Linked DNA regions of Homo sapiens: region 1 is linked to region 2. The links are contacts of gene promoters, found by promoter capture Hi-C in blood cells and fetal thymus (Javierre and others, 2016). All regions are on one chromosome and are shown on one strand. Each heading gives the region's core, a stretch centred on a gene start or on the middle of the fragment in contact. The rest is flanking DNA. Distances are from core to core; before and after follow the strand shown.

What was found. The method cuts DNA at HindIII sites, captures the fragments that hold promoters and counts their contacts. A CHiCAGO score of 5 or more calls a contact.
Region 1: a contact is called between the fragment with the promoter of C6orf132 here and the fragment with the promoter of PRPH2 in region 2, in 1 of 17 cell types (neutrophils). The highest score is 6.7, in neutrophils.

The regions. Positions count from the first base shown.
Region 1 is chr6:42,141,341-42,146,824 of GRCh38, forward strand. C6orf132 (chromosome 6 open reading frame 132) reads right to left here and starts at 1,280. Exons shown (of 5, transcript NM_001164446.3): 1 at 960-1,280. The coding sequence starts at 1,104. RefSeq lists an enhancer at 1-534. The HindIII fragment of the contact is 4,430 bases long and covers 1-2,708 here.
Region 2 is chr6:42,719,716-42,725,665 of GRCh38, forward strand. PRPH2 (peripherin 2) reads right to left here and starts at 2,882. Exons shown (of 3, transcript NM_000322.5): 1 at 2,039-2,882. The coding sequence starts at 2,619. The HindIII fragment of the contact is 19,648 bases long and covers 1-5,950 here.

The DNA of each region.
Region 1 (5,484 bases), core at 30-2,529, 580 kb before region 2:
TGGGTGACCTTCCTTGGGCCCAGAAGCCCCCTGCCCCCCCAACCTGGGCGTTCCAGAGCCACATGTCATACACAAGAAATGGATTTCTGTCTCCAGCCGCTGGCTTCCCCTAGTTATAGAGAATACAAATTGCAAAACGATGCAATGATAAGATGACCCACAGCCAGAGCCTGGGGATGAGCCAAGGCGGTGCTTTTAGAGGCCTGCAGAGACACACCAGTCTGATTCCAGGGTCAGCGGCAGCTGGCAGTCAGGGAGAGGGTTCCTTGGCCTCCACTGTCCCATTTCTGGCTCCTCGGTCTTAGCCCAGAGACAGCCCAGGTCCCAGGTTGAACTGGCAGGAGCCTGTGGCCCCAATAAGTGACTTGGTGTCACAAACAGGCTGGTAACCTGGTAGCAGCTGCGCCTGTTGTTTTTTCCTGGGCCTCACCTAGCCAGAGCCAAGTTTGTGAGCACCCAGATAGCAGGCCCCTCTCTGCCACGTGGGCTTGGGAAACAGGGAGTGCAAAGGGTGAGGGAGGAGTTCTTAGCCCCTTAGCCCCCAGTTCTTCAGGAACACTTTTGCTTCAGCCAGAATGGGGGTGTAGCGGTGGGGGTCGGGGGAGATATCGCAAACCTCCGGAAGCCTTTCCGCTAACAGTAACACAAGCATAGGATTCGCCAAGAGGGGGAATTAAACACCTCCGAATAAGGCCTGGGGTCAGAGGTGGGGGCGGCAAAGTTCTCCCACCTCCCCGTGGTGGTGGGGGGGGTCCCCTCGTTCCCCACACCTCTCTCACCGCACAGCCCTTCCCAGACACCCCTGTGCGGTGCCTCCTCCCCTGCCCGGCGGCTGCTCTCGGCCAGTCCGCAGGTTCCAACGTGTCCCTCCCCTCCGCGCCTCCAGGAGACAGCACCGCCGGCCCTGCCCCAGCGCCCTCCGTCCCCGCCCCAGCGCCCTCCGTCCCCGGAGTACTCACCGAAGCCCCCGGTCCCCTCCTCCGGGGCCTCCTGGGTGAAGATCCAGGGCGGATTGGTGGCGTAGAGGGAGGTGCTGGGGGTCGTGGTGTGCTTCTTCCCGAAGAGTTTGCTGAAGGTGCCCTGCACCGTCTGCTTCTTTTTCATGCTGCCGCAGCCCGCGCGGGCGCCAGGGAAGGACCTTCCCTCCCTCGCCCTGCCCTGCCCCGGACTGAACTCAGCACGGTCTCCCCAGGGGACTCTACCAGGCCATGTCCCCCGCCGTCCTCCCCGCCCGCGCACCGGGCAACAGGTGCTGCGGGCGCCGCCGCTTGCCGGGAAATGCGAGCTACCTGGCCAGGTAAAAGGCAGCCGCTTGGCCGGGCCCCGCCCCGCCGCCGCCCAGCTCCCCAGGCCGCATTCCTTCCCGCCTCCTTCTACAACAGGCCATTGTTGGCACGGCCCGGTGGGCTGGGGACCTCGCCCGGCCCACGCCCAGCCTGGGAGACGGGCCACCCCCTCCCCCAGGTTCCTCCCTGCACGCCTCCTTCACCCCACTTCCCCCTAGTCCGGGAAAGGAGGCGGGTGAGTTTCCAGCCTCTCAAGGCGATTCGTGACCAGGTCAGTATGGGTACATCGGGGACAGCTCTAGTGTCCAACACGAGGGACATGGATGGCCAAAGCGAGCACGCCACGGCATCCTATAGCCCCTCAAATATGTGGGGCGTGAGGCTTCGGGGAACATCAGGAAGTGCCTGTAAGAGAAAAGTAAGCTGGGAAAAGCAAGAAAATGACAAACTAGTATACCAATCTGATGACGAGGGTGGAAAAACATCCTCATTGACAGGGCTCCGAAGAGAATGTGGGATGACGAAATCTTGGCATTCTGTGTCTGTACATCACATTGTTTTTCTTTTTCTTTTCTTTTCTTTTCTTTTTTTTTTCCTTTGGACGGAGTCTCGCTCTGTTGCCCAGGCTGGAGTGCAGTGGCGCCATCTCGGCTCACCGAAACCTCCCGGTCTCGGATTCAAGCGATTCTCCTGCCTCAGCCTCCCGAGTAGCTGGGATTACAGGCACGCACCACCACGCCCGGCTAATTTTTGTATTTTTAGTAGAGACAGGTTTTCACCATGTTAGCCAGGCTGGTCTGGAACTCCTGACCTCGTGATCTGCCGGCTTCGGCCTCCCAAAGTGCTGGGATTACAGGCGTCGGCCACCGCGCCTGGCCCACATTCTTTTTTTTCTGTGAAGTTAAGTGAATATAATTTTTGAAAACCTAAAGTGGGTAGAGCCCACTTAGGGTTGGGTTCACTCTCCAGGGAGACAAACAGTGGTACTTTAAGGCACTTAGGGTAACATCCTAGCCAAGCCAGGGGTGGCTATCCACGGGGGAAATTTCCTCCGATGAGGAGGGGGAGAGCCTGCGTGAAGATGCTGAGAGCAGAGGTGCAGGCCAAGTGGGTGGAGTTTGATGTTTTCTGGGCAGCAGGGGGCATAGGCTGGTGCAAGTTGCCATTTCTGCTGAGCTTCCGGGGGACAGGGCCCACTGCCACATTTCCCCTCAGTTTCCCCCAGATCTTACACCAAAGGCGTTTTCCCTCAACTTTTCACTCTGAAACATTTCAAACCTTCAGAGAACTTACAAGAATTGTACAATGACCACCTGTGTACCCTTCTCCCTGGATTCACCAATTGTTAACTCATTGCTAAATTCATCCCTCTCTCTCTCTGTCTCTCTCTCTCCCGGATTCTTTTCCTTTTCATTTTGCTGAAGCTTGGAAGTTGTAGATACCGTGGCCCATTTCTTAGCCTCCCCCAGTACTTCAGCATCGATGTCTAAGAGTAGGAACATTCTCCTACATGGCCACAATACAACTGTCACACTCAGGAGATCTAACATTGCCAGGCACGGTGGCTCACGCCTGTAATCCTAGCACGTTGGGAGGCCAAGGCAGGTGGATCACTTGAGGTCAAGAGTTTGAGACCAGCCTGGCCAACATGGTGAAACTCCGTCTCTACCAAAAATATTTAAAAAATCAGCTGGGCGTGGAAGTGTGTGCCTGTAATCCCAGCTACTAGGGAGGCTGAGGCAGAAGAATCACTTGAACCCGGGAGGCAGAGGTTGCAGTGAACCAAGATCATGCCATTGCACTCCAGCCTGGGCAACAAGAGTGAAACTCCGTCTCAAAAAAATTAAAAAACAGGCCAGGTGCGGTGGCTCACGCCTGTAATCCCAGCACTTTGGGAGGCCGAGGCAGGTGGATCATGAGGTCAGGAGATCGAGACCATCCTGGCTAACACGGTGAAACCCCGTCTCTACTAAAAATACAAAAAAAAAATTAGCCAGGCGTGGTGGCGGGCACCTGCAGTCCCAGCTACTCAGGAGGCTGAGGCAGGAGAATGGTGTGAACCTGGGAGGCGGAGCTTGCAGTGAGCCGAGATCGTGCCACTACACTCCAGCCTGGGCGACAGAGCAAGACTCCGTCTCAAAAAAATAAAAAAAAAAAAAATAAATAATAATAAAAAAAACAAACAAACAAAAAAAGAATTTCACAATTATCCCCTCAAATGTCATTTTAGTTTTTTTGTTCCTTTTTTTTTTTTTTTCGAGACAGAGTCTTGCTCTGTCGCCGAGGCTGGAGTGCTGTGATGCAATCTTGGCTCACTGCCACCTCCGCCTCCCGGGCTCTAACGATTCTCCTGCCTCAGCCTCCCAAGTAGCTGGGACTACAGGTACCCGCCACAATGCCCAGCTAATTTTCATATTTTTAGTAGAGATGGGGTTTCACCATGTTGGCCAGGCTGGTCTCAAACTCCTGACCTCAAGTGATCCACCCACCTCAGCCTCCCAAAATGCTGGAATTATAGGCGTGAGCCACCTTGCCAGCCAAGTGGCTCCATTTGTTTGCAACTTCTACTATATAACTATTATTATTATTATATGTATATTTTTTAGATGGAGTCTTTCTCTGTCACCCAGGCTGGAGTGCAGTGGCGCAATCTCGGCTCACTGCAACCTCCACTTCCCAGATTCAAGTGATTCTTCTGTCTAAGCCTCCCGAGTAGCTGGGATTACAGGTGCCCACCACCATGCCCGGCTAATTTTTGTATTTTTAGTAGAGATGGGGTTTTACCATGTTGGTCATTCTGGTCTTGAACTCCGGACCTCAGGTGATCCACCGGCCTTGGCTTCCCAAAGTGCTGGGATTACAGGCATGAGCCACCGCACCCGGCCTGTAACTAATATTCTTGAGAGCCACTGTGTGCCACACGCTGGGCTGTGAAAGAGCCAGAAAAATTAAAGACATGGTTCTTGAGTCCAGGTTGTTATATAGTCTGTGGAGACAGGCAGTGACCTGTGGAGAGCTGGGCAGTGGGGAGGTAACTGAAAGGAAGGAAATGAAGGGGGGAAAGTGCAGAGCAATTTGGGGGCTGCAGGATCTGGGGAGGGTAGGCAGGAGACCTCTTCAGGGGCTGAGGATGGGGGAGCTCGGAATTATCCAGTGTGTGGGAGGTCACGGCAAGGTTGGCCAAGGTGTGGAAGGCTTAAAAAGGCCACCTGGGTGGCCGGGCGCGGTGGCTCACGCCTATAATGCCAGCACTTTGGGAGGCCGAGGTGGGCAGATCATGAGGTCAGGAGTTCGAGACCAGCCTGGCAAACATGGTGAAACCCTGTCTCTACTAAAAATACAAAAATTAGCCGGGTATGGTGGCAGGCGCCTGTAATCCCAGCTACTCGGGATGCTGAGGCAGGAGAATCGCTTGAACCCGGGAGGTAGAAGTTGCAGTGAGCCGAGATCACGCCATTGCACTCCAGCCTGGAGGACAAGAGTGAGACTTTGTCTCAAAAAAAAAAAAAAAAAAGAAAGAAAGAAAGAAAAAGCCAGCTGGGGCTGGGTGCGGTGGCTCACACCTGTAATCCCAGCACTTTGGGAGGTTGAGGCGGGTGGATAACGAGGCCAAGAGATCGAGACCATCCTGACCATCCTGGCCAACATGGTAAAACCCTGTCTCTACTAAAATTACAAAAAGCTGGGCATGGTAGCGTGTGCCTGTAGTCCTAGCTACTTGGGAGGCTGAGGCAGGAGGATTGCTTGAACCTGGGAAGTGGAGGTTTTGCAGTGAGCCGAGATCACACCACTGCACTCCAGCCTGGCGACAGAGCGAGACTCCGTCCAAAAAAAAAAAAAAAGAAAGAAAGAAAGAAAAAAAAAAAAAGGCTAGCTGGAAAAATGGGAATCAACTAAATGTCCACCAAGAGGTGAATTGTTAAATTTAAATAAACTATAGCCGGCTGGGTGCCACAGTGCATGCCTGTCATCCCAGTGCTTTGGGAGCTGAGGTGGGCTAATCACTTTAGGCCAGGAGTTCGAGACCAGCCTGGCCAACGTGGCAAAATCCCATCTCTACCAAAAATAAAAAAAAAATTAGTCGGGTGTGATAGTGCATGCCTGTGGTCCCAGCTACTTGGGAGGTTAAGGTGGGAGAATCGCTTGAGCCCAGGAGGCAGAGGTTGCAGTGAGCCTAGATCACGCCACTGCCCTCCAG
Region 2 (5,950 bases), core at 1,632-4,131:
TGCATCACCATGCCCGGCTAATTTTGTATTTTTAGTAGAGACGGGGTTTCTCCGTGTTGGTCAGGCTGGTCTCGAACTCCTGAACTCAGGTGATCCGCCCGCCTCGGCCTCCCAAAGTGCTGGGATTACAGGTGTGAGCTACCGCACCCGGCCCTAAATTGTCTTTATACTATCATTACACTGTATGATTATGTAAATGTTAACAAGACTAGACTGAAACTGAAATGTAGAAAAACTAAAGGCATTAATCAAGTTATGGGTGAGAAGCTAGCTTGAATTTGTTTTCCTATTTTGGCTTCTTTTAATATTACTGCTGTATTTTTTGTGCGTGTAATAGAAGAATTTTTCCAAGTCAGTGGAGTTAGGAAAATTTCCCACCAACAAGTTGGTATGGGACATTGAAGGAGTTTTGATTCAGCTAAATATTTGCCTGAAATTTTGGATCCATTGACCATTGAGAGTGGAGTGACCTAGATAATTCCTTCACTCTGATACAAAAGGGGATTTGGAGTTACCGAGAGATTTGAATACATCTGTCCAAGAACTGACTCTATGCAGGAGACAATCAAGGGAAATGATAGAGGAAAAGATGAAAAGCCCCTTCTCTGTGAGCCTCTGCTCACAGAGGCTGGTTCTACCATCGGCCTCTCCCACTCCCCAGAATTCTGCTTGTCCCCCTGGCTTCATGCCCTCCTCGGGAGATTTATGTAAATCGTGGCATCTTGTGCTGCCCCTGCAGACCTGTCACCTGGGAAGGGCACAGCCCTTTACAATCCTCTCCTGACTGGGGATTTGCAGCAGTAATCTCCATCCACAAGAAAATAAAATCCCAAGAAGTGACCTTCACTTGGACGTCCCTTCCATCTGCAGGGCAGATATAAGCTAGCTATTTGGGCGTCATTAATGTTGTTTTGGGCTTCAAACATGTCCTGCTGCTGGTGCCAATGCCCTGAGTTCAAGTTCCCTTTGGACTTGCCAGCCTCACTGGGAAGAAAAAAAAACCACCCTTAGGAATAACTGAACCCCTAACCTCAGCCAGGTAGGGTCGAGTCAGACAGAAAGAAGAGGTGAGGGAAAGCGGCTGCCTCAAGGCAGGCTGCCCTTTCCCTGAAAAGTCACTCGAGCCCCAGGTTGGTGGGTGTGTTGGGAAGAGCAGCCCGCTGGAGCCAGTGCACAGGCTGTTCCCTCCGACACAGTGGTCGAGAGTCTCTCTCTCACCAGCACCTCCCACAGCCCATCGCAGCATTTTACTTTTACATATGCCAAGAATACTTTAGAAATGCTTTATCACATTGCACTATCATGACTCGCTAAGTAAACACCAGCAAGCATTTAATGAGTACCTGCTGCATGCCAGCTACCAGGCAGGGCTAGGAGGTGACTTCCAAAATTACCTATTCTATTCCAGTGCTCATTTAAAAGATGGGCAAGCCAAAGCGCAGAGTGACTAGTGACCTGCCCAAGGTCACAAGACCTTGAACAACAGAACCAAAACTTCACCCTAGATCTCATGACTTCCCCTTCCTATGCTCTTTCCAACATATCCAGACAAACATCTTGGGAATGGATGCTCAGGGTTGAAAGGTTGGAAAACAAGGGAACTAACTAGGAAATTTAAACTTCTGGGACTGAATCCATCTACTTTGAATGAATGGGACAAATAGCCAAATAGTACCTCAGTGTTTGTGATCTATGAATGACTTCCATCCCTCTGTATAAAGTGGACACACATTGCTGCCTGGCTCTTCATCCCAAGGGGCTCCTATCCAAACAGCTTATATAAATTGATACCTTCCTACCACCTTAGCCAATGTTAGGTTGAACCCTATGAAGTTGTCATTTTTTATGGGTCAAAGAGGTAGAATATTAGCAATTTCATATGGTTCCACCTGATACACCCTCACATACGCAGCAATAAGTTGTGCACCCGATGGAGAGGAAAAGGCACTGGGTGCGGGGAGAGGGGCTGGTCAGAGGCCTGAGCCTCAGTGTCCCCAATATATTCATAGCTCTGACCCCAGGACTGGAAGCCACTCACTCTTTGACTTCTTTGGAGGAAAAGTCCAGGTAGCGATTGCTGATCCACTGAATCTCAAACCAGTCCCGAAAACCGTTGTTGCCGCAGCATTTGAACTCGATCTGCAGCATGTCGATGGTCTTCTTCATGAAACACCTGCCAGGGGTGTCTGTGTCCCGGTAGTACTTCATGCCGTTCTTGAGCCCTTGGCCCAGGGTGTTCTCCAGCGAGCCCCGAAGCAGAAAGCAGCAGAGAGCCACAAGGAAGAGGATGATGTTGAAGAGAACACAGATAGCCAGGTACGGCTTCAGCCAGGGCTTCCATCTGGCATACTTGGCTGGGTCCAGGGCGTCGTAGCAGATCTTCCCAGCCAGCGAGTTGAAGACACAGGATAGCACCCCCATCCCTATCAATGAGTTGGGCACAAAATGGCTCTCAGAATTATTCATCACATCGCTCCTCTTTCGGAGTTCAATCTTCAGGAACAGTCCTAGGCTGAAGATGATGATGCCAGCCAACACGGAGAACCAGTTCATGAGCCAGAGCCCTTGGGCCAACTTGACCCGCTTCTTCTGGTCAAACTTGACTTTCAGTAGCGCCATGCTTGCCAAGTGTAGTCCGGGTTGCTTCCCACAGCACAGCTCCCACCCCAAACCTTAACGAGCCCAGAGGCGGAGACTTAGGGCCTTGGGAAAAGTGCAGATGGCCCAAGCTGTAGGGAGCTGCCCTGGGGGCTACCCATGTCGAGTCCCACTAGCCTGGGATCCCCGTGAATGCAGTAGTGGTGGCAGGGGTCTCGGAATCACAGCTTGAGCAGGGGATAGTCCTGGTCCTGGGCGTTGTTTCTTCAGCGCCCTTCCCAGCCAAGAAGGGGCAGCCTGAACGCTGCAGATTAAAAGTGGGATCCACAAGACATTTTGCTAATCTCTTTAGCCAGGTTCATCCCATTAGATAAAGCCATGCCACTCTCAAAACATGGTCAAAAGCAGCCTCCAGGTACATGCTGAACCAGAAAGCTCTGGGTACAGCTTGGAGAATCAGGAGCAAAGGGCAAGACTGGCCAGAAGAATGGGCTGTATCTGGATGTCTGGCTCAGACCGTGTTGCTCCCCAAAAGCATATTTCCAGGCCAATCTCCTTCAACATTTAAAACTTTCTGTAGGACAAATAAATTGTTATCCTCTCTGAGAAAAGAAATGACAGGGCCAGGCACAGTGGATCACGCCTATAATCCCAGCACTTTGGGAGACCAAGTTGGGTGGATCACTTGAGCCCAGGAGTTCAAGACCAGCCTGGGCTACATAGGAAGACCCCATCTCCACACACACACACACACACACAAAAAAAAAAAAAAAAAAATTAGCTGGGTATGGTGGCATGCACCTGTAGTTCTCCCAGCTACTCTGGAGGCTGAGGTGGCAAGATCACCTGAGCCTGGGGAGTTCAAGGCTGCACTGAGCCATGATCGTGCCACTGCACTCCAGCCTGGGTGACAGAGTGAGGCCCTGTCTCAAATTTTAAAAAGACAAAGAAAAGAAGAGAAGAAGGAAGGAAAGAAAGAAAGTGACAGATCGTGAGAAAACATTTGCAACTTGTAAAATTAAAAAGTAATATACAGTGGCCAGGCATGGTGGCTTATGCCTGTAATCCCAGTACTTTGGGAGGCCAAGGCAGGTGGATCGCTTGAGCCCAGGAGGTGGAGGTTGCACTGAACTGAGATCCCCACATTGCACTCCAGCCTGGGTGACAGTGAGACTCTGTCTGGAAAAAAAAAAAAAAGAATTAATATGCAAAAATGTTTTAAGTCTCACAAATTCACAATAAACAAAAATTCACAATCAAAAGACCAATAATCAACTGGAAAAATAGGCAAAAACCAGGAACAGACAATTCATAATTAGGAAACTTGAAAAGTCCAATAATCTGGAAAAGATCTCAACTTGGGTAATAAGCAGGAAAATGCAAATCCAAACAACAATAAAATACCAAACTTGGCCGGGCACAGTGGTTCACACCTGTAATCCCAGCAGTTTGGAAGGCCAAGGTGGGTGGATCACTTGAGGTCAGGCATTCAAGACCAGCCTGGCCAACATGGTGAAACCCTGTCTCTACTAAAAATACAAAAATTGTCTGGGTATGGTGACAGGCACCTGTAATCCCAGTTACTTGTGAGGCTGAGGAAGGAGCATCAATTGAACCCGGGAAGTGGAGGTTGCAGTGAGCCAAGATTGCGCCATTGCACTCCAGCCTGGGTGACAAGAGTGAAATGACGTCTCAAAAAAAGAAAAAGACCAAACTCGATCCATCAAATTGAATGTATGTCAAAATTCTGTCACCATACATCAACAAAGAGAGTGGAAGTAGAAGTGTACACTCTTGGTGAATCTGTACATTTATTATTATTATTAATTAATGGATTATTTCTTACAGTAGTTTTAGGTTTACAAAAAAATTGAACAGAAAATACAGGGAGTTCCCATTATTCTCCATCTCCCCAACCAGTTTCTCCTCTAATTAATATCTTGCATTAATGTGGTACATTTGTTACAATTAATGAACCAATATTGATGCACTATTATTAACTAAAGTCTATAGTTTACATTAAGGTTCAGTCTTTGTGCATATAATTCTGTCACTTTTGCCAAATGCATAATGTCATGTATTCATCATTATTGTATCATACAGAATACTTCCACTACTCTAATAACCTGCCATGTTCTGCCTATTCATTCCTCCTTCCCTCACTCCTCAGCCCTGGGCAACCACCGTCTAGATCTATAGTTTTGCCTTATCTAGAATATCTTACAGTTGGAATCATACAACATGTAGCCTTTTCAGACTGGCTTCTTTCCCTTAGCAATATATGTGATTAATGATTCTCTGTATCTTTTCACGGCTTAATAGCTCATTTCTTCTTATCACTGAATAACGTTTCATCACATGGATGTACCACGGTTTATTCCTTCACCTATCAGAGAATATCCTGGTTGATTCCAGTTTTTGACAATTATGAATAAAACTGCTATAAACATCCACGTGCAGGTTTTTGCTGAAAAATTTTCCATTCATCTGGGTAAATATCTAGGAGCACAATGGCTAGATTACATAGTAAGACTATGTTTAACTTTGTAAGAAACTGCCAATCTGTCTTGCAAAGTGACTGTACAATTTTGCATTCCTACCAGCAATTTTTACTTCATGTCCTTGCCAACATTTGATATTGTCAGTGTTTCAGATTTTAACCACTGTAATAGGTGTGTAGCTGCATCTTGTTTGAATTTGCAGTGCCCTAATGACATTTGATCTTTTCATGTGTCATGTGCTTATTTGCCATCTGCATATCTTCTTTGGTGAAGTGTCTGTTCAGCACTTTTGCCTGCTTTTATTTCTTTTTGAGTCAGGATCTATCTATGTTGTCCAGGCTGGTCTCCAACTACTATTCTCAAGCAATCCTCCCACCTCAGCCTCCTGAGAAGCTGGGATTACAGGTACCTGCCACAATGCCCAGCATGCTCACTTTTTAATAATGTTGTTTGTTTTCTTTAGAGTGTAAAGTTTTACAGCCCTTTGGAAGGGCAATTTAGCTATACCTATTACAATTTTCAAAAAAAAATTTTAGCGACGGAGTCTTGCTGTGTTGCCTAGGTTAGTCTCAAACTCCTTGGGCTCAAGCAATCCTTCTGCCTCAACCTCCCAAATTGCTGAGATTACAGGTGTGAGCCACCTCACCCACCCTAAAATTTAAAATGCATTAAAATTCCCAAAGATCCAATAATCTTACTTCTCAGAACAGCCTGTGCATAAGTACAAGGGCTTTTAAGAACAAACCAAGGCCATGTGTGGTGGTTCATGCCTGTAATTCCAGCACTTTGGGAGGCCAAGGCAAGTGGACCACTTGAAGTCAGGAGTTCAAGACAAGCCTGGCCAACATGGT